Linked DNA regions of Homo sapiens: all the other regions are linked to region 4. Evidence: promoter capture Hi-C in 16 types of primary human blood cells and fetal thymus (Javierre and others, 2016). All regions are on one chromosome and are shown on one strand. The core of a region is centred on a gene start or on the middle of the fragment in contact, and the rest is flanking DNA. Distances in the headings are between cores, read along the strand shown.

What was found. Contacts are between HindIII fragments. The CHiCAGO score rates a contact against its expected background, and 5 or more counts as called.
Region 1: a fragment that was not itself captured here is called in contact with the fragment with the promoter of PTGIS in region 4 in 6 of 17 cell types (endothelial precursors, M0 macrophages, activated CD4 T cells and 3 more); the score reaches 6.8 in endothelial precursors.
Region 2: a contact is called between a fragment that was not itself captured here and the fragment with the promoter of PTGIS in region 4, in 3 of 17 cell types (erythroblasts, M0 macrophages and megakaryocytes). The highest score is 7.7, in erythroblasts.
Region 3: a fragment that was not itself captured here is called in contact with the fragment with the promoter of PTGIS in region 4 in 3 of 17 cell types (erythroblasts, monocytes and naive B cells); the score reaches 6.6 in erythroblasts.

What each region holds. Positions count from the first base shown.
Region 1 is chr20:49,846,874-49,851,375 of GRCh38, forward strand. It overlaps SLC9A8 (solute carrier family 9 member A8), which reads left to right. Exons shown (of 16, transcript NM_015266.3): 6 at 2,706-2,807; 7 at 3,937-3,971. Among named protein-coding and RNA genes, the nearest start is that of MIR12122, 15 kb to the right of the region's middle. The HindIII fragment of the contact is 1,994 bases long and covers 2,217-4,210 here.
Region 2 is chr20:49,892,957-49,897,994 of GRCh38, forward strand. No RefSeq gene overlaps it. Among named protein-coding and RNA genes, the nearest start is that of SPATA2, 20 kb to the right of the region's middle. RefSeq lists an enhancer at 1,611-1,780. The HindIII fragment of the contact is 5,027 bases long and covers 1-3,944 here.
Region 3 is chr20:49,866,763-49,871,675 of GRCh38, forward strand. The region is part of intron 10 of SLC9A8 (solute carrier family 9 member A8); the gene reads left to right. Among named protein-coding and RNA genes, the nearest start is that of MIR12122, 5.4 kb to the left of the region's middle. RefSeq lists enhancers at 988-1,097, 1,338-1,387. The HindIII fragment of the contact is 5,734 bases long and covers 1-4,913 here.
Region 4 is chr20:49,566,727-49,571,548 of GRCh38, forward strand. PTGIS (prostaglandin I2 synthase) reads right to left here and starts at 1,411. Exons shown (of 10, transcript NM_000961.4): 1 at 1,317-1,411. The coding sequence starts at 1,390. It overlaps LOC101927486 (a long non-coding RNA gene), which reads left to right and starts at 1,318. Exons shown (of 2, transcript XR_244188.4): 1 at 1,318-1,447; 2 at 4,487-4,822. RefSeq lists enhancers at 1,711-2,327, 2,328-2,942. The HindIII fragment of the contact is 14,656 bases long and covers 1-4,467 here.

The DNA.
Region 1 (4,502 bases), core at 1,964-4,463, 280 kb after region 4:
GATCACGCCACTGCACTCCAGCCTGAGTGATAGAGGGAGACTTTGTCTCAAAAATAAATAAATAAAAATAAACTTAATTTGTTGTTGACATGGTATAAAATAAATAAATACATAATTTTAAAAAATGAGTTAGATTTGTCTAGAAATGTTTGGTAAAAACATAGAAATTAAGTCTTTAATTTTCCTGTACTAAAACAAAAGCATATTAAGATGTTCAGCCCAGATTTTTTTTTAAGTTATTATTTTATTGTGCATCTATCCAAAGAAAAAGTGAAAAGGAAATTTAATGTAAAAAATATTCACAAGTCTTACAAACTGTTAGTGACATCAGATAATTTTTAACAAGGAAACATAAGTTGAAGGTCACCATGTCTTTCCTTTCACTTTGTAAACAAATCTTAACTGTAAGCAGATATGAAAATATTTCAAAACATGCTGAGGAAATTGACTTGATTTTGACTTAAAAACATGACATTTTGAATATTAGAGCATGTAAAGTTTTTCTTTTCTTTTTTTTTTTTTTTTTTAGAGGGGAGAGAAACTTGTTCAAAATTTGAGGAAAGTAATAGTTTTTTAGAGAAACATTTTGTTGAAGATGACTTTCCAGCAGGAAATGTGACAATTTATATGAAAGGGACTGATAGGATTATGAAATGCTACTTCTGAAACTTCTATCCACTTTCTACCCTCGCCCAAAGATGATAGGAAGTAAAGTTTGAATATTTTATTTTAATATTATGATATCTGCTAATGTAAATTTGGATTTAGAATACAGATTACAGTAAGATTATCATCAGTTGATATGCATTAGCTAGGCAGCAACTGGTTCTTTGAATTGCAAATATTACACAAATCACAGGATGTTAATTATGTCAGAGAGAAACAGATAAATTTGCTTTATGTAGCAGAGGGAAGTTCTTGTATTATGGTAACTTTAACTTGGGTAAATGTTCAGGATCCAGATTAATATTAACCAAATATATAAATTATATCAACATTAGATCTCTGCAAACAGGTCAAAACTGATTAATCTGTTTTTTTTTTTTTTTTTTTGAGATGGAGTTTTGCTCTTGTTGCCCAGGCTGGAGTGCAATGGCACGAACTCGGCTCACTGCGAACTCGGCTCACTGCAACCTCGGCCCCCTGGGTTCAAGCGATTCTCCTGCCTCAGCCTCCCGAGTAGCTGGGATTACAGGCGTCTATAACCACACCAGCTAATTTTGTATTTTTAGCAGAGATGGGGTTTCTCCATGTTGGTCAGGTTGGTCTCGAACTCCTGACCTTAGATGATCCACCCGCCTTGGCCTCCCAAAGTGCTGGGATTACAGGTTTGAGCCACCGAGCCCAGTCTAATCTGTTTTTAAATAACAAAAGAAAACAGCGATTTGCAAAGAGCAACTCATAGATTGAAAGCCCTTTGTTTTGAAAAACCAAATCATTGTGTTTTAAAATTCTTTGTGCAGTAAAGATTGATATGCCAAACAAAGGAATTGAATGTCAGATGATAGGCAGCCAAGTCAAAATTGCAGCTTCTAGGAGGTGGGCTTAGTGGGGCAGTCAGTGTTCAGCTGAGGACACTCTTTCACAAGTGGGCTTTAAAATAGCAGGTCTTGATGTCCATGGTTTGGTGATTTCTGAGCTAAAAACAAGATTCTTGTTCACAACCACAATCGGGGGTGATCAAAGACTCTTGGTAGCTCCTAAGTGGAGTTCATAGGGTTATAATAAATAGCTTAATTTCCTTAATTTTATGGAAATTTGAAAGATGCTACCATGCTGCTTGAACTTGAATATTTTATCTTAAACGCTGTGAAGTATAGATAGAAACATTTTATCTGACATAGTTAATGATGATACTAATAGAGTGAAGTAAAATTGTTTAAAAGACCTGGCCAGGAAAAAGGAATATCTGATAGTGTATCTTGGTATCCTAATAGTGTGGACTTTGGATGTGAAACACAGTTAATTCCTTCAGTGCCTGTCTGTTGGGCATCTTCCATCTGACGGGCATTATGTCAGGGACCGTGTTGTGCGAAAGCAGGTGGGGTCATTGCCCAGAATGAGCCTGCAGCCTCATGGGAAAGTAAGACATCAGTACATAAATAAGTGCAAAATTGCAGTCTTGTCAACCGCTACAAGAGAGGGTGACTGTGCACTGAGAGCACAGACTAGGATCTGGGAAGAGTTGAAATGTCCTGAGATCTTGGGATGATGAAAGCTTAACAAGCAAAGAGGGAGCACAACCTGCTCGAAGCCACCAGTGGGACTGGAACCCAGAGAACAAAGGCGAGCATGGTGCCAGATGAGCCCAGAGGCCTCCCCAGGAGTCGAATCATTCAGGGTGGGGGCTAGCTGCATTTTAAGTGGAAATAGGGGTCCAGGTGAAGGCAGCACAATCAGATTTGTCTTTTGGGAAGATCATTCTGGAAAGACGGGAGAGTGGAGGGAAAGGGGCCCTGGGGGGTTGAGGAGACTTGTGCGAAGCTATGCAGTGTTTCAGATGAAAGATGGTGTGAGTGACGGGACACTGCAGTAAGTGCGGGGGTGCAGGAAGACTCCCGGGCTCCCAGCTTGCCACACAGGTTGGGCAGTGGTGCCTTTTACAGAGAATCAAGTCTGCACGGAGGGCCAGGTGTGCAGGCCGTGCCTTCACTGACAGGAATGGCTTTTCTAATCATTTCCCTGATTTCTGCTCTTTCAAACAGGGTAACTTCTTTCAAAATATTGGTTCCATCACCCTGTTTGCTGTTTTTGGGACGGCAATCTCCGCTTTTGTAGTAGGTGGAGGAATTTATTTTCTGGGTCAGGTAAGAAAATCATCTTTGAAACACTTTGAAAGTCTTACATTCTTAGAGCTAGTGCAGGGAGGTGGGAAGGTGAAATGGGGCCACTTTGTGGGGCCTGGGTTTCACCCTTAAGGTAAATTCCTTCTGGAAGGAAATCCTAGCTTCATATGAGGCACAGTAGAGGCGTGCTAAATTGTTTCAAAGTGTCCTCCAAGACCTTTGGTATCTGGAATTGAGTAAAACTTTTCCATAATCCCCCCCAAAGTATTTGAGTTTATTTGCAAACCAATACTGTCTTAAATTAGAATACCTAAAAATGAAGCCAAATATATGCCATCAAGAACTTCAAACTGTGTTGTCAAGTAGACTGAATTGGGGTTGAATGCTGTTTTTTGATAAAAATTTGTATTTAAAAAATCAAAGATGTGCTTTTCTGCTGGCATTGGAGAAATAATAAAATCAAAGGTGATGCTGAATCTCTTCACTCAATTCTAAGCTGTCTACCTGTAGAATTATATACTCTGGATTTTCCACAATTGCTAAACCACTTCCCAGTGGCACCAGTTGGGTGGTCTCTACTTTAGACTTCAAATTAATTTAGACCAAACATCCCTAGGAAGGTAGTATCTGTAGTTTTGTATTATGCATGTCCATGCATGTCACATTCTTTTCCTTTATTGTCAGTTGCAGAAAGTTTGCCTGTCTCAGTTCTGAAAATTAAGTTGAGGGTCAGGTATCTGAGTGACGGGCAGATTTCTTTAACACATCAGCTGCTTTCTTCTCTCAATAGCCAAAGCCCATTCCATTGGATTTTCACCTATATTGCAGCTTTGATGGCACCAGAATAAATCTGTCTGTCATGCAGCTTTCTTCATTGCTCAGCTTCTAGTATTAAGTAAGAATAAACTTAAGGAAACTACAGTTAATTGGGCTTGAAGAATGTAGCATTCTTTTCCATACTCTCGTTGCATGCCGATGGAATGCATGTTTCAACTAAGGCTTAGGAGCTTTTATTTTTCAAGTGGTTTGGGAACTGAAGATTAATGTCCTTATTAGTTTTAATAAAGCACTAATGGACATTTAAATCTTGGCTGTTCTCCAGGGTTTTTTTTTTGTGTGTGTCTGTGTGTTTGTGTGTTTTATTTTACAGGCTGATGTAATCTCTAAACTCAACATGACAGACAGGTAAATCCTTCATACTGTAACACCCATGCGACTGCTTTTCAGACAGGGGAAATGTTTCTCCACATTGCTTCCTGGGTGTGGTACTGTTCTATTCTCTCTCTGTGTATTTATTTTTGGTAAGGATTTCTGCCATAGAATCTTACTCTGAGTTAATTTGTATCTCTGAAATGAATCAAAAGTATCCTAAAGACTTTTGAAGATCCCTAGTGGGGCATTGCTGATTGGAATGATTTAGTTTAAGCTTGGGAGGGAGTAACTCTGCTCAGCTAACTGCCCTGCCTGTGTGCACGCGTACACTGTACCATTGTCTTCTTATTTACAAGACTTTTCAGTCGCCGTAACAAAAAGTCTTCTTGACAGATTAGAGATGGAGAGGGGGAGTGACGGAGAAACTTTCCTCTGGGATTCCCACGAAGCCTGTGGTGGGGGAAGCAGGGCCAAGACCTCTATTGTGGTTATTGTAGAAAGCCCCTCCATCTGAAGCCACTCCCGTGAGCACTTCCCATGAGCCCCATCCAGGATTTCCCAGAA
Region 2 (5,038 bases), core at 181-2,680, 330 kb after region 4:
ATAAAAACTGCAAGTGTGATGAGAAGTGGTAGCTGACACTTGGCCTCAGTGTCAGGGAGGCACCACGAGAGTGATAAGGACTCTGGCTAACAGCAGAATTTTCCAGGCCAGCCCTGCCTGCGAGGGCGGCTGGGAAGTGGAGCTGCGCTGTGCTGAGCAGAGTGTCAGCTGGGACGGAACGGAGTGCTGGCAGCAAAGGTGGGGGGTGGTCCTGAGTGGGCACCTCGTTCCCACGGAACAGGGTATGTTTCATTTGTATTTCAACCTTCTCAACTCCTAAAAAAAGCTCTCAGGGTAGAGGGGAGCAATCGAGGCAAGAAATATTTTCCTTAGAGGCTAGAAAGCTGGCGGGGGGTTGGAGGGTCACACACAAAGTTGAGGGTCCTGTAACCCCCGCTTATTATTCCACAGGGCACTAGGGGAATGAAGCTGGCCTGGAGCGGGGCCCCACTGCCTCTTGGAGGCAACCCCCCCACCCCAAGCAAGGGACAACACAGCCCTCTGGCTCTAGCCAGAGAAGATGTGAGACATGAAGGGCAGTGGGGGTCAGGGGCCAGGGGCCAGTACAGTCATCTCAAGGCCCTGGGTGACAGTAAGTGCCCCGTAAATGAGGGTCCTCTTTGTGAATATTTATGGACCTGCAGGAGAGCAGGCAGGCATCAGCCACACTCCCCCTGCCTGGGGAGGCCGCCTGGCAGACCTGGGGGGTCTTAGCATCAGTTGGGACCAGTCTGGTGCTGGGGACAGAAGGAACCTCTGCGCATACAGGCAGCTGCCAGCTAATACCCTGATGTAAATGGGGAAGAAAATAAGTCTTTGCTTACAGAAAAAAAAGGGCACAAAAATGTAGTTGGTTCATTTTGTGGCGAAGATGAGCCATACGCTCCTATCTGCTGGTGGGAGGGCAGCTGGCTCACACTCTCCAGAGGACACTGTGGTGACAGCTCTCCAAAGCCTGAAAACGGCCCAGCAGTTCCACTCATGGGGCAAAAGGAAAGTGCATGAAAACCGCACTCCAAGAATGGTCATCCCGGCAATATCTGAATGAGGATAAATGGAAAACAACTTCCTTGTCCATGAATGAGGGACTGGTGAGATAAATGATGATAGAATATTTACCAACAGCTCAAGATTCTAAGGATGTGGAAAAATGTTTAGAATGTTATCAGACCAGCATTTTACCACCTTTAGGGAGAGAGAAACATTTCACCCTCTCCTTAAATGCTGTTTGAGATTTTAAAATGACTAAAAACGAAAGTAGAAATTTTAGTACATCCTTTTATACAAATACACATACTGGCACTCCAGCGCGCACCCATTCATCCCTAATATGGAAGACCTGGTGGTTCCTTTCAACCACCACTTCTTCCCCGAGCCCTGTTGTCTTTGCTAAGAGAACCCATGTGGTTCGTGTAATGGGTGACTGTATGCTTCAAGGGGAAACAGAGCCAGTTCTCGGTTCAGGTTGTTCCTGGTCATTCCCTCTACTTGTCTGAGATTGGCTGAGGAATGGGTCTGTGACCTTATTTGGCAGGAGAATGAAGCGATTAAAAAAAACAAAACAAAACAAAACAAAACAAAAAAAAACGAAGTCTCGCTCTGTCGCCCAGGCTGGAGTGCAGTGGCACCATCTCAGCTCACGGCCACTGCAATCTTCGCCTCGTGGGTTCAAGCGATTCTCCTGTCTCAGCCTCCTGAGTAGCTGGGATTACAGGTGCCCGTCACCATGCCCAGCTAATTTTTGTATTTTTAGTAGTGATGGGGTTTTGCCCTGTTGGCCAGGCTGGTCTCGAACTCCTGACCCCAGGTGATCCGCCCACCTCGGCCTCCCAAAGTGCTGGGATTACAGGTGTGAGCCACCGCGCCTGGCCTGAAGCAATCTTTTGAGGAATTTCTAAAACTTTCCTTACTCTCAAAAAGACACTCAAGGAAGGGACATGTTCTCTTCCCATTGTCTGACCTTTGCCTCCCATTACTTGAGGATGTAATGCCTCCACCTGCTGCAGCCATTTGGAGACCAGGAGGGAACACCTTGCCACCATGCTGAGGATGGCAGAGCAGAAAGACAGAAGGCTTGTATGTTGTCAAGGACACTGCTGGAGCAGTTAATTAACCAGTCCTGGAACTGACCTCCCTCTGGATCTCATGACATGGGGCAATACATGTTCTGTATCTGCCATTTCTGGTTGGGTATTTTGTTACAACAGAAATAATGCTGTTATAACTTCATGAACTGAGAAAAGCAGATTTCAGAACCATATCAATAGATGTGGCTCTATAAATTAAATTAGCAGTATGTGTATACAGGAAAAAAATCTTAAAGGATAGACATAGAGTTTTAACTTAACTTTGGTTCTCTCCAAGTGGAAGGATTATAGGTAAATTTTTTTTTTTTTTTGAGATGGAGTTTTGCTCTTGTTGCCCAGGCTAGAGTGCAGTGGCACGATCTTCGCTCACTGCAACCTCCATCTCCCAGGTTCAAGAGATTCTCCTGCCTCAGCCTCCCAAGTAGCTGGGACTACAGGCCCCTGCCACCACGCCTGGCTAATTTTGTATTTTCAGTAGAGACGGGGTTTCACCATGTTGTTCAGGCTGGTCTTAAACTCCTGACCTCAAGTGATCCACCTACCTCAGCCTCCTAAAGTGCTGGGATTATAAGCATGAGCCACCGCATCTGGCCGATTATAGGTAACTTTTAAAATCTTGCTGTTTGCATATACTTTCTATTTCTCTCATAAAGAATATTTATTAAGTCAATAATAAGGAACACACATGTTCTTTGACCAGAACTAGAGGAGCAGTGCATTAGATGGAGTGACTTGAAGGCCCCTAGGGAAACAGGTGAGGGTCCAAACTGATGCAGTCACCACGGAGAGGCCTGTGGCCCTTCCACCCACGATTCCTCTTCTAGCCCTGGGGCAAAGATTGGCAAATTACTGCCTGTGGCCCAAATCCAGCCCGCCTCCTGTGTCTGTACTACCTAAGAGCTAAAAATGGTTTTAACATTTTTTAAAGGTTGGGGAAAAAAACAGAAGAGTAAGGCCAGGTGTGGTGGCTCACACCTGTAATCCCAACACTTTGGAAGGCCAAGGTGGGAAGACTGCTTGAGCCCAGGAGTTTGAGACCAGCCTGGGCAACATAGGGAGACCCTGTCTCTCTATATATAATTAAAAAAAACTAGCCAGCATGTTGGTGTACACCTGTGGTCCCAGTTACTCAGAAGGCTGAACCCAGGAGGTCAAGGCTAAAGTGAGCTGTGATCGTGCCACTGCACTGTAGCCTGGGTGATAGAATGAGACCCTGTCTCAAGAAAAAAAAATCACAGATTCACAAGAAGTTGCAAAAAAGATAGTACAGAAAGGTCCCATGTACCCTTCCCCCCGTTACCCTCAGTGGTAACATCTTGCACAACTACAGAATAGTTTCACAACCAAGAAACTGGCATTGCCACAGTCCACAGATCTTGTTCCAACTTCATTAGTTTTACAGGCACTCGTGTGTGTGTGTGTTTAGTTCTACGCAATTTTATATCGTGTAGATTCGCATAACCACCATCACAGGGAAGTTGCCTTTTATAGAAGTATTCCAGCTGCCAAACAAAGAAGAAATCATTGAATTGGAATATCTCTATTTTGTAACTTCCAGTGAAATAATGGATCTAAGTGGGAAGTAACAGCCTTAATAGCTGCTAATTCCCCAAAGGGAGAGAACTCGACATAATATGCCTCCTGATGAGAGAATACGCATCAAGTATTCTTACCACAGAGATCAGACCCAAATCCAAGCAAACCCCAACAGCCAGCTACCATGCAATACATGCACACATTCAACACCCTTTCACGATCAAAACACTCAACCACCTAGGAATAGAGGGAAACTACTGCAACACAATACAGGCCATCTAGGATAACAGCTGACAGCATACTCAATGGTGAATGACTGGAAGCTTATCCTCTAAGATCAGGAACAAGGCAAGGATACCTACATTCACCACTTCAATTCGACGTAGTACTGGAAGTTCTAGCCAGAGCAATTAAGCAAGAAAACCAAAGAAAAGATACCCTGGTTGGTAAGAAAGAAGCTAAAATTATCTCATGGATGACATGATCTTATATGTAGATAACCCTGAAGATTCCACAAGAAAAAAACTGTTCAAACTAATAAATAAATTCAGCAAAGTTGCAGGATACAAAGTCAACACACAAAAGTCAGCTGCATTTCCATAAACAGTGGACAATCAGAAAAGGAAATTAAGAAAAAAATCCCATTTATAATAGCATCAAAAAGAATTAAATAGGAATAAATTTAACCAAGCAGCAAGAAAGACTTGTACACTGAACACTATAAAACATGCTGAAAGAAATTTTAAAAGACACAAATAGGGCCAGGCATGGTGTCTGACGCCTGTAATCCCAGCACTTTGGGAGGCCAAGACCTCCCAAATCACTTGAGGCCAGAATTCAAGACCAGCCTGGGCAACACAGTGAAACCCTGTTTCAACAAAAAAAAATTAAGAATTAGCCATGCGTGGCACATGCCTGTGGTGCCAGTTACTTGGGAGGTTGAGGTGGGAGGATCTCTTGAACCAAGAGTTCAAGGCTGCAATGAGCCATGACTGCACCACTGCACTCCAGCCTGGGTGACAGAGCGAGACCCTGTCTCAAAAAAACAACAACAAAACGATCTATACTGCCCAAAGTGGATCTACAGATTCAATGCAATCCCTATAAATGGCATTTTTTACAGAAATAGAGAAATAAAACCATCCTAAAATTCATATGGGATCTCAAGGGACCCTGAATAGCCAAAACAATCTTTAAAAAGAACAAAGGTGGAGGCGTTACACTTCATGATTTCAAAGTATATTACAGAGCTACAGTAATCAAACTAGTGTGGTACTGGCATGAAAACAGGTATACACTCATAGACCAATGGAATGGAATAGAGAGCCCAAAAATAAACCCTCACATATATGGTCAAATGATGTTCGACAGGAGTACCAAAACCACTCAATGGGGAAAGGACTGTCTCTTCACCA
Region 3 (4,913 bases), core at 1,532-4,031, 300 kb after region 4:
AGCATGCTATTGGCCCACAATATGCTTTGCCTTTTTTTCTTTTTTTCCCTATGTGCTTAATTTTGGTTATTTCCTGTTGCCGTATCTTCAAAGTCACTGATCTTCTGCCATGTGGAATCTCCTGCTAATCCTACCCAGCGTATTTCTCATTTACATATTTTATAATTCATCTACAGCAGATCCCTTTAGGTTATTTTCATTTCTTCCATTTCTCTCTTCATCATGTTCATGTTTTCTTCTATATTCTGGAGCATATGAAACATAGAAATTTCTGATAGCTGTTTTAATGTCCTTGTTTGCTAATTCCGTCATCTCTGTCAACTGTAGGTCTGTTTTGTTGTTGATTTTTCTTGTGCTTATAGGTCACATTTTCTTGCTCTTTGCTTGTTATTAAGTTTTGATTGGATGTCAGTCATTGTGAAGTTTTATGTTGTTGAGCACAAGATTTTATTGTATTCCTTTACGGAGTTCTGGACTTTTCTTTTAAAAACAATTTTTTTTGTGTGTGTGTGTTATTTCTGGACTTTTCTTCTGGCACGTATCTAAGTCTCTTGACATCAGTTTAATCCTTCTTGAGGCTTACATTTAAACTTTTTTAGGGCTGGTGCAGAGTAGCAGGGCCCTAACTAAGGTGTCTCAGGTACCGTGAGCTCACTCCACTCTGGCTGGTGGGAACGCAAACTATTCCCACCCATGTCAGCTTCTGGAATTGTTCAGCCTACTTCTTTTTAATGGTTCTTTCCCCAGCTTCTTGTTTCATCCGACATATTTACTGATCAGTATCAGTCAAAGACTCAAGGGGACTTTACAGTAGATGTCCAAGAGCTCTCTTTCTGTGCAGCTTCCCCGACTCAACAGGACAGCCCTCTTAAAGCCTCAGCCTCAGGCAGTCAGCTCAGCAGGGGGCCTAGGGAAAGAGTGGCCACCTTTGTCTCCCTTCCGGCAGGAATCACAGTCCTACCCTATCTTTTGTCCCATGTCAGAAAATAGTTTTGTTTCATATCTTGTATCAGGTTTTCTAGTTATGTAGAGCAGGACAGTGTTCTGTGTAGCAGTAATTTCTTCAGACGCAAAGCTGAAGGCCCAGTGGTCTCTAGTGACTCAGTTGACAGAACTTTTCTACCCAGTCGCTATCCGGAGTCACACTTGGGTGCTGCATGAGCAGCACAAGGAGGAAGCAGAGTGGACTCACCATTTTCAGGGTTTTGTTTTTCATCGCAGACCAGTTCACCAGGGTAATTCCATCCTGGTGTCTGCCATGAGGTTCCCTTTCTTTACTGAATGTTGGCACTTACAAAAACGTTACCTGTGAGTCATTCGGCTCTAGCCTAGCTATTTTTACATCTGTTTTTCTAAATTGTTCCTCTACCCCCTTGAGAAGATCATTGAGTACCTGTTGGCAAAGATGTGTTTCATGCATCTGTTTGGAATCTGTGATTAAAATAAGGGAGTGTTTTTCTTACCTTCTTTTCAGACTGGCAGTGTTTCCTGTTGAGAGGGGTTTCATTTCCTTAGGGACCTTGCTCCACACACAGCAGTGCAAGCCAGGAACACCAGATCTGCCTCTGGGTGAGGGAACCTGCTCTGTCCGCACTTTGCCTTTTGGGTATTTGTCACGCAGGGTTTTCAGAGAGGGGCAGGATGGCCCTGTGTGGTGTGTGGACGCCCCACATTGCACTGTGAAAGCACAGATGGAAAGGGTGGTTTCTGCTGTCTTCACCTTCCTTTGTGTGCTCCCCTTTTCCTGACTATCACAAAGGACTGATCTCAAGTGGTTCCCAAGACCATGGAGCAGGACATTCTCTTCCTAGGAAGTGGGAATTATTTACCTAAATCCACATGTAGGGAACACAGTTGCTAAGGACTGGGGCTGGATAACAGACAGACTTGGATTTGAATCCCAGCTCCACCTCTTATTGGCTGTGTAACCTCAGATTACAGACTTAACCACCCCATGCTCTACTTCCTCATTATAAAATAGACAAAAGGGCCAGCCTGACGCCTTTGCTGAGGAGTGGGGAGCGATGCAAGTGAGAGTCCTGATGGGGCATCTGTGCCACTGCTGGGGTGGCCAGAAGTCCTGGTTTGCCCTCTGTCTCAATATGATGAATTAATAATATCCCCGTTTATTCTAAAAAATGTCCTGGTATCCACAGCAAATCAAACAGTCTCCCTAATTATAACTCAGCAAGCGTTAGCTATTCTCAGAATATTTGTTCTGACTGTATCCATGTTAACTATTTTTATTGTTCAGTCAAGCCAGTTTTGAGGGCCACTTTGGCCTCTGACACTAAAGATTCAAAGATGAATAGACCCCACTTAGGCAGAGCAGTTAGCGAACACTGGGCTTGCAGGGGATGGGAGAGAGTGACACTCTGTCAAGGTGAGTCACAGAGGAGGGGACTTTGGGCTTGAAGGATGAGTTTGCAAGATTAATCATGAGATAACACTTTCTTTCTTTCTTTCTTTCTTTTTGAGGCAGAGTTTCGCTCTGTAGCCCAGTCTGGAGTGCAGTGGTGCCATCTCGGCTCACTGCGACCTCTGCCTCCCAGGTTCAAGCAATTCTCTGCCTCAGCCTTCCGAGTAGCTGGGATTACAGGTGCCCACCACCACGCCCGACTAATTTTTTTTTTGTATTTTTAGTAGAGACAGGGTTTCACCATCTTGGCCAGGCTGATCTTGAACTCCTGACCTCGTGATCTGTCCGCCTCGGCCTCCCAAAGTGCTGGGATTACAGGCGTGAGCCACCGCGCCCGGCCAACATAACACTTTCTTAAGATGTTGGCATGGGCCAGGCGCAGTGGCTCACACCTATAATCCCAGCACTTTGGGAGGCCAAGGCAGGTGGATCACGAGGTCAAGAGATCAAAACCATTCTGGCTAATATGGTGAAACCCCATCTCTACTAAAAATACAAAATATTATCTGGGCATGGTGGCACGTGCTGGTAGTCCCAGCTACTCGGCAGGCTGAGGCAGGAGAATTGCTTGAACCAGGGAAGCAGAGGTTGCAGTGAGCCGAGATCCTGCCACTGCACTCTAGCCTGGCGACAGAGCAAGACTCCATCTCAAAAAAAAAAATAAAATAAAAATAAAAAGATACTGGCATGAAGTTGGCCAAAGATAGAATGTATGGTGCAGTGCTCTTCTGCACAGATATCTAAGGAATTCCATTGCAGCACTGCTTGGGAGAGAAAAACTGGAAGGAACTATATGTTCATCAGTAATGGAAAAGATCAAATTCCAGTCCATTTGCACTATGGAATCCTGTGCAGCTACTTAAAAAATGAACTTGACCTGTCTGTACTGCCATGGAAAGAATTTGACATATTGTTAAATTTTTTAAAAGTAAGTTGAAAAATCAAACTCTCGCCCATTCAAGAAATACTTATTAAATGTCCACCCTATGCTGAGAACTATCCTTGCTGTTGGGGCTACATTTATAAACAACACAAGATCAGTTTCCTTTTCTTGCAGAAGAAAGCCAGAATTTAAGCAAACCCATACAACAATTCCAGGTGGCAAGAAATGACAAGAAGAGAAATTAAAGCCATGTGACAGAGAGTGGCATGTGGTAGAGAATGGATGGGATCTCAGGCAGTCAGGGAGGTCTCCCCTGGAGGTGGCACTGGAGCCCAGACCTGTGTGGCGAGAGGAGCCAGCCCAGGGACGCTCTAGGGAAGGAGGGTTTTGGCAGCAGGAACTGCAGGAGCCAGGGGTCTGAAGATAGATGTGCGGGAGTGTGGCATGCTCCAGGAAGAGAAGGAAGACCAGTGTGGCCAGGACGCTGCCTCACAGGTTCTGCAGGCCTGAGAAGGAGCTGGGTTTCTAGTATATGCACCACGACAAGAGAGTTGGAAGCCCTTGAAAAAAAATCACTCTGCTGGTAATAGGCACCATATATGTGATAGGATCCTGTTTATTACTTTAGTTTTATTTTATTTTAATTTTATTTTTTGAGACAGGATCATGCTCTGTTACCCAGGCTGGAGTGCAGTGGCACAATCACGTCTCACTGCAGCCTTGACCTCCCCAGGTTTAGGTGATCCTTCCACCTCAGCCTCCTGAGTAGCTGGGACTATAGGCACGTGCTACCACACCCAACTAGTTTTGTATTTTTTGTAGAGCCAGTCTCACTCTGTTGTTCAGGCTGGTCTCAAACTCCTGGGCTCAAGCAATCCACCCACTTTGGCCTCCCAAAGTCCTGGGATTACAAGTGTGAGCCACCATGCCAAGCCTATTACTTTAAAGATAAACTTTATAATCACATGGTAAAAGAACTGGCAGTCTGCATATTGAAGTGTTAATAGTAGTTAAGAGTAGTTACGTCTGAGCGGGCAGTATGAATAGATTGTCTTTTACTCTGTACCTCAGTGAGTCTGAATGTTTTATGGCAAAATATGTTTATTATTGAGTAATTAACACAGCGTACTCATTACGGTTTCACTCAGCCCTCAAGAAGTATGTTATATTTTACATACAGTAAGGCACGGTACAGTGTAAATTGTACCATGATACCTTTTCACTGCCTTTTGGACTTGAATCCCATACTGTCTTCCTTTATTACATCTAGAACAGTGGATGTAACCATAAACAGAAGTGGATTTCCTCTCTCCCTTTCTTTTCTGCCATTCTTCCTTCAGGAGGCTGAACGCTTTTGCTGCATTTGCTTTCTTAAACGATTTTGCCTAATTCTTAAAGGAAATTCTTCCTTAAGCGTATTTTTTCAAATACCATGCCTTTTACCTCACTTAAAAAAGTTATCCTGGTTTGCACCAACCCCCGCTTTTGTGTTTCTGTAGCCTGCTCCACTGGCCGCAGATGAGGGTGATGTGGGTGGTGGAGAGTCCCCTTTGCTTCTGGAGGGCATATGAGGCAGATACTTGAGCCATCCCTCTGGCTTTTGTGCCTGCT
Region 4 (4,822 bases), core at 161-2,660:
TTTATGTAAGAGTAATTTTTAAAACATCTGGGAGACTGAGGAGGTATGAAAACTAAAGGCAATGTGGTAACTTGGGGCCGGATCCTGGAACAAAAGAGGACAGTAATGGGAAACTGGATAAAATCCCGTGAAGTTTGAAGTTTAGTTAAGAGTAACGGACCAGTGTTGGTTTTTAGTGGCGACAAATGTCCCATAACAATGTAAGATGTTAACAATAGGGAAAACGGGGTGAGAGAAATACAGGAACTTTTTGTACTATCTTTGCAACTTTCTGTAAATCCCAAACTAGTCTCAAATAAAAAGTATATTTTTTTAAATATGGAAGGTTCTACCCAGACTCAGCAACAGGAGAGGCCCAGAGAGGGAGAGAGGACTAGACTTCAGGGGCTGGGGGAGGGTTAAGGGGCTTCGGTCTTACCTATAACAGGATAAATATTTGTGTTAAGTCGAATGTATTCAGCTATTCCTTATGCAATTCAAGTTAACTTAAAAAATATTTTATGAAAAGGAGAGCTACAGCTATCTCCTTGATTTGAGGCTGTCTTTACTTTTTCTCCTAAATCACAGATGCTCAATGGAGCTGGAAAACCTTTGGGACCAGGAGGCTGTGACATCTGACCCTGGCTCCGTTCTGTCCAGGCTGTGGGACCTCAGGGGAAGGTAGAGACTTCATAGGCCTCAGTTTCTCCCTGGCAAATGAAATTACTAAGCCCACCGACCCCCGTCTTCCAGACGGGGAATCCCGGGGTGGGTGGTTCCAGGGCATGATCAAGACATCCCCCAGGGGCTCTACACTCCGCTGGCTCAACACTCCCATCTGTGTAATGGGTTGAGGAGCGAGGCTATCCCTATAGGACTGCCGAAAGCAAGGCAGGGTTTGACAGCGCGTAGGTGGGTGCCAGGTGCAGGCAGAGGCTGGAGAGTGGAGAGCGCTTCTTCCACCCGGGCCACGCAGAGGCTGTCCCCGCACGGCTCCCCACCCACAAACCCTCGGTCCTCACCTGAAACCCCCTCCTAGGTCCCTGCCGTCGCGCTAAGGGCCAGACTCGGACTTGTCGCGGTGGGCGATTCGCCCCGGGGGACCTACCGGACCCCGCACCTTCCCACCTTGCACCTTCTTGGCAGGGGGAGCACGGCCTGGCCCCCTCACCCACGTGCGGGGCCCCGGGACTCCCACCTCCGAGGGTCTCGCCTTGCCCGGGATACTGGAGCGGGACTCGGGCCGGGCCGGCCGCGGGCTCCGAGACCCTTGGGCTGCAGCCCGGGCGGGAGCCGCCCCCTTTGTCTGGCGGGGCCGAGCGGAGCAGGACACTCACCGCGTGCGGCGGCGGCTCAGTAGCAGCAGCAGCAACAGTGCGGCCAGGAGGCCGAGGAGCGCGGCCCAAGCCATCGCGGGGCTGGCGGGGCTGGCGGGGCTGGCGGGGCTGGCGGCCTGGCCCACTCCCAGGTAAAGTTCCCCGCCCCCACCCGGCGCGCCCCTCCCACTCCGCCCACCCCAGCCCGCTTTGGGGCGGGGTGGGGGGGGTGGGGGATGGGGCCCTCCGAGGTCCGCAGGGGTCGGACCGGGGCGCTCTGTTAGAAACCCTGCTCCCCCCAGCTCAGGCCTGATGGAAAATGTGGGAGGGAGGGGAGGGGAGAAGGAGGGGGAGGGGGAGGGGGCGGAAGGGATGTGGTGGGCTGGGGAGTGATCAAGGGGAAAGGAGATAGATGGGGGACTGAGGGGGATGTGGTGGACTGGGGGGTGATGGAAGGGAGGGGAGAGGGAGAGGATTTACAGGAAGGAAGAGATTATATGCGGGGAGGGAAGAGGGATGGGGAAGATGGGAGAGGACTTTTGGGGAAGGGAAGAGGAGGGAATGTGGGAAGACGGCGGGACGATGGGGAAACAGCCAAGGAGGTATGGGGAGGAGGGGGCACAGTGGGAGGAGAAAATGTGGTGGGAGGGGACGAACATGGAGGAGGAGTGTAAGGGGGTCAGGAGGAGCTTTCCCACCACATTCCACATTCCACCTAGACAGAGGAAACCCCCCAAGGCTCCTCCTCACCCCATCCCCCACCCCAGGCGTGCTGGGGACCTGGAGTTTTCCATTCTGTGGTCTGGGCTGGGAGGGCTGGTCTGGATTATATCGCACCCTATAGTATCTTCAGTAACTACTGGGCAGGGGGTACAAGGGTGTCTCAGGGAGTCCCCTCATCCTCACCTGCTTTGGGGACAGATAGTGCCCGTGAAGTATGCACCCTCTACCTGGTGCACGTTAGGGCCTCCGGATGTGGTGGCCATTGTCATCGCTACCTGGTGCTTGGGGTGCCAGCCCCCTGTGCCCGCGGCTCTGCAATGTACCACCCCAGGGTGCTGATGAGAACTGGGGGTCAATCCAGCCTCACTCCACGCCCCTGCCCCCACCATCCCCATTCCCACCCTGGGAAGCGTTGGGCAGGTAGCTCAACCTCTCTGAGCTCACCTCATTATCTGGAAACAGGGAGGGCAGAGTTGTGCTTACCTCTGGGGCTGTTGTGAGGAAGTGATGAGAGCTTGACACTAAAAGGAATCACAAACTGTTGAGTGCTTGGCACACTAAGTTTTATGAAACCATGGGCTGAACCTGGAGGTAAGACCCAGGAGGTCTTGTTCTAGTCCTGTATCCACCCATTCAGTGCCGGGTGAGCTTAGGCACGTTTCATTCCATAGTCCCAGCAGAGCTCTGGAGAAGCTGTTGCTCCTCCTGGTCTCCTGGCTTCCATCCTTATCAGCCAGGGTCCTGACAAGGCCCTTCGAGAACCAGCATGATCCGCCCCTTCTCACCTTTACCTGCCTGACCCTATGCCCCCGACTCTCTCCCTCACCCACTCTGCTCCAGCCACACTGATCTCCCCATCTTTCCCTAGAGGTCCCACTGCAGGGCCTTTGCACGTGCTGTTCCCTCTGTTCGGAGCATTCTTCGCACAGCCTGCTCTTTCCACCACCTCCCCGGTGCCTCTATCTCTGCTCAGCTGTCACTGCAGAGAAGCTGTCTTTGGCCACCTGGTCTAAAACAGTCATCTCCTCTTACTGATTTTTGTTTCTTTGTTTTTTTGATAGTTTTTTTTTCTGGCAGTACTTCACATGTCCTGCTATCATACTCAAGATTCATTCATTTGCCTGCTTAATGTTGGCTGTCGAGGCAGCTGGATGACCCCCTTGTGGCCTCAGCAGATTCAGAACAGCAGGAGGCAAAAGGAGTTTTCTGATCCTCTTGTTTATTTTTCCAGCTTATCTGCCAGAGAAGCCAACAATCCCAAGAAGGCCATAGAACGGGTCCAGAGGATTTTCTCCAAATTTGGGGAGCTCCAAAGGGCTGTCTGCTAGCAGTGGGGTTCACAGCTGGGCTTGGCCGATCCTCAGCTTTGTGACCCCAAGCAGACTGCTCCACCTCCCTAAGCTGAGGTTCCTCATTGACAGAATGGGGAAAAGAGAACCTCATGGAGTTGAGGTCAGGAACAAACGACCTGGTCCATGGGGCACACCTATGTGAGTGCCTGTCACACCATGAGCATCAGGGAAAGTTAACCGCAATTAGCGCTTATACCAGTTCCGCTCCTCTCCATTATCTGTGATCAGGCTTGGTCTCAATTTTCCCATCTGAAAAATGGGAAGAACAGTTCCTTCCTCATGGGGCTGCTTTGAGAACTGAATTAAATGAAAAGAGAATGAAATCACCCAGCACAGGGTCTGGTATACAATAGGTACTCAATAAATATTAGTTCTTCTACTCCCCACCCCTGGCTTCAGTGCAGACCAATATCACCTCAATACAAATATCTCTTCCAGATACTCTCTTCCCTTCTCGACCCATAGACAAAATCCTCCCAGGGAAGGAGAGGCAGCTGCTCACACACCAAAGGGAGATGAATGTGAGCCTCTGGTTCTTCCTGGATTTGTTCAGGAGTCGGCATATGTTTAGGAAGGTGGCCAGGCCCCCTTCCCAGAGAATGACCCACCATGGGTCTGAGCTGGTCCAGGAAATCCACCTTTGCTAGTGATTTGTCCTGAGGTGGGCACCTTCCAGATATCTGTTGCGGGCTTCTAGAAAAATGTGTTTCCTTCCTATTTGCCTTCTCTTCTGCTTTGGGGGCAATCGTGTGGGAATGTGATTAGTGGGGGAGCTGAGGGGGGCTGTAGTGTTATGAGGGAAGGCCAAGAAAACTGCAGAGCCCCAAACCAGAGCTGCGGAATCACCATCCCTGGAACCACCTGCCTATAGATTTCTCATTTAATGAGCTAACCACACGTCTGTGCTAGGACACCATGAGTCAGATTTTTCTAATACTTGCAGCCAAAGACATTCCCAACTGAGACGCCTTCTAGATATGGCTGAAGGGAGGACCAAATGAGGCAATGATGCATCCGGAGCACCTCTGCAGGACTGGCCCATGCGAGAATTCAAAAGTGTTGCTTTGTTTTATTATTTTTACTTTGCTTACTGTGTAAGCTTTCTATGTTTATCAGGCTGACAGGACATCCAACCCTCTGGCTATGGCATCTTGGAGGAACAGGCAGGCCTTGAAAATAGCAGAAATTCCGAATTCCCCTGCCCCGGGAGGACTCAAAGGACCCTGCTGAGGACAGAGCTGATATGGCCTCAGAATAAAGATGAGGGAAGACCATCCCAAGGAAGACCCCTCTAGCCCATGGCAAAAGGGCTGGAATACGCAAGGATTTGAAAAGCAAGTTTTGCTTTCCATATAAACCTAAGCAAGTCGCTTAATCTGTGAGCCTCAACTACTTTACTTGTGCAATGGGCATGTTGCTGGTAGTGGTGATAGCAGGGAGCCACCGAGAGAG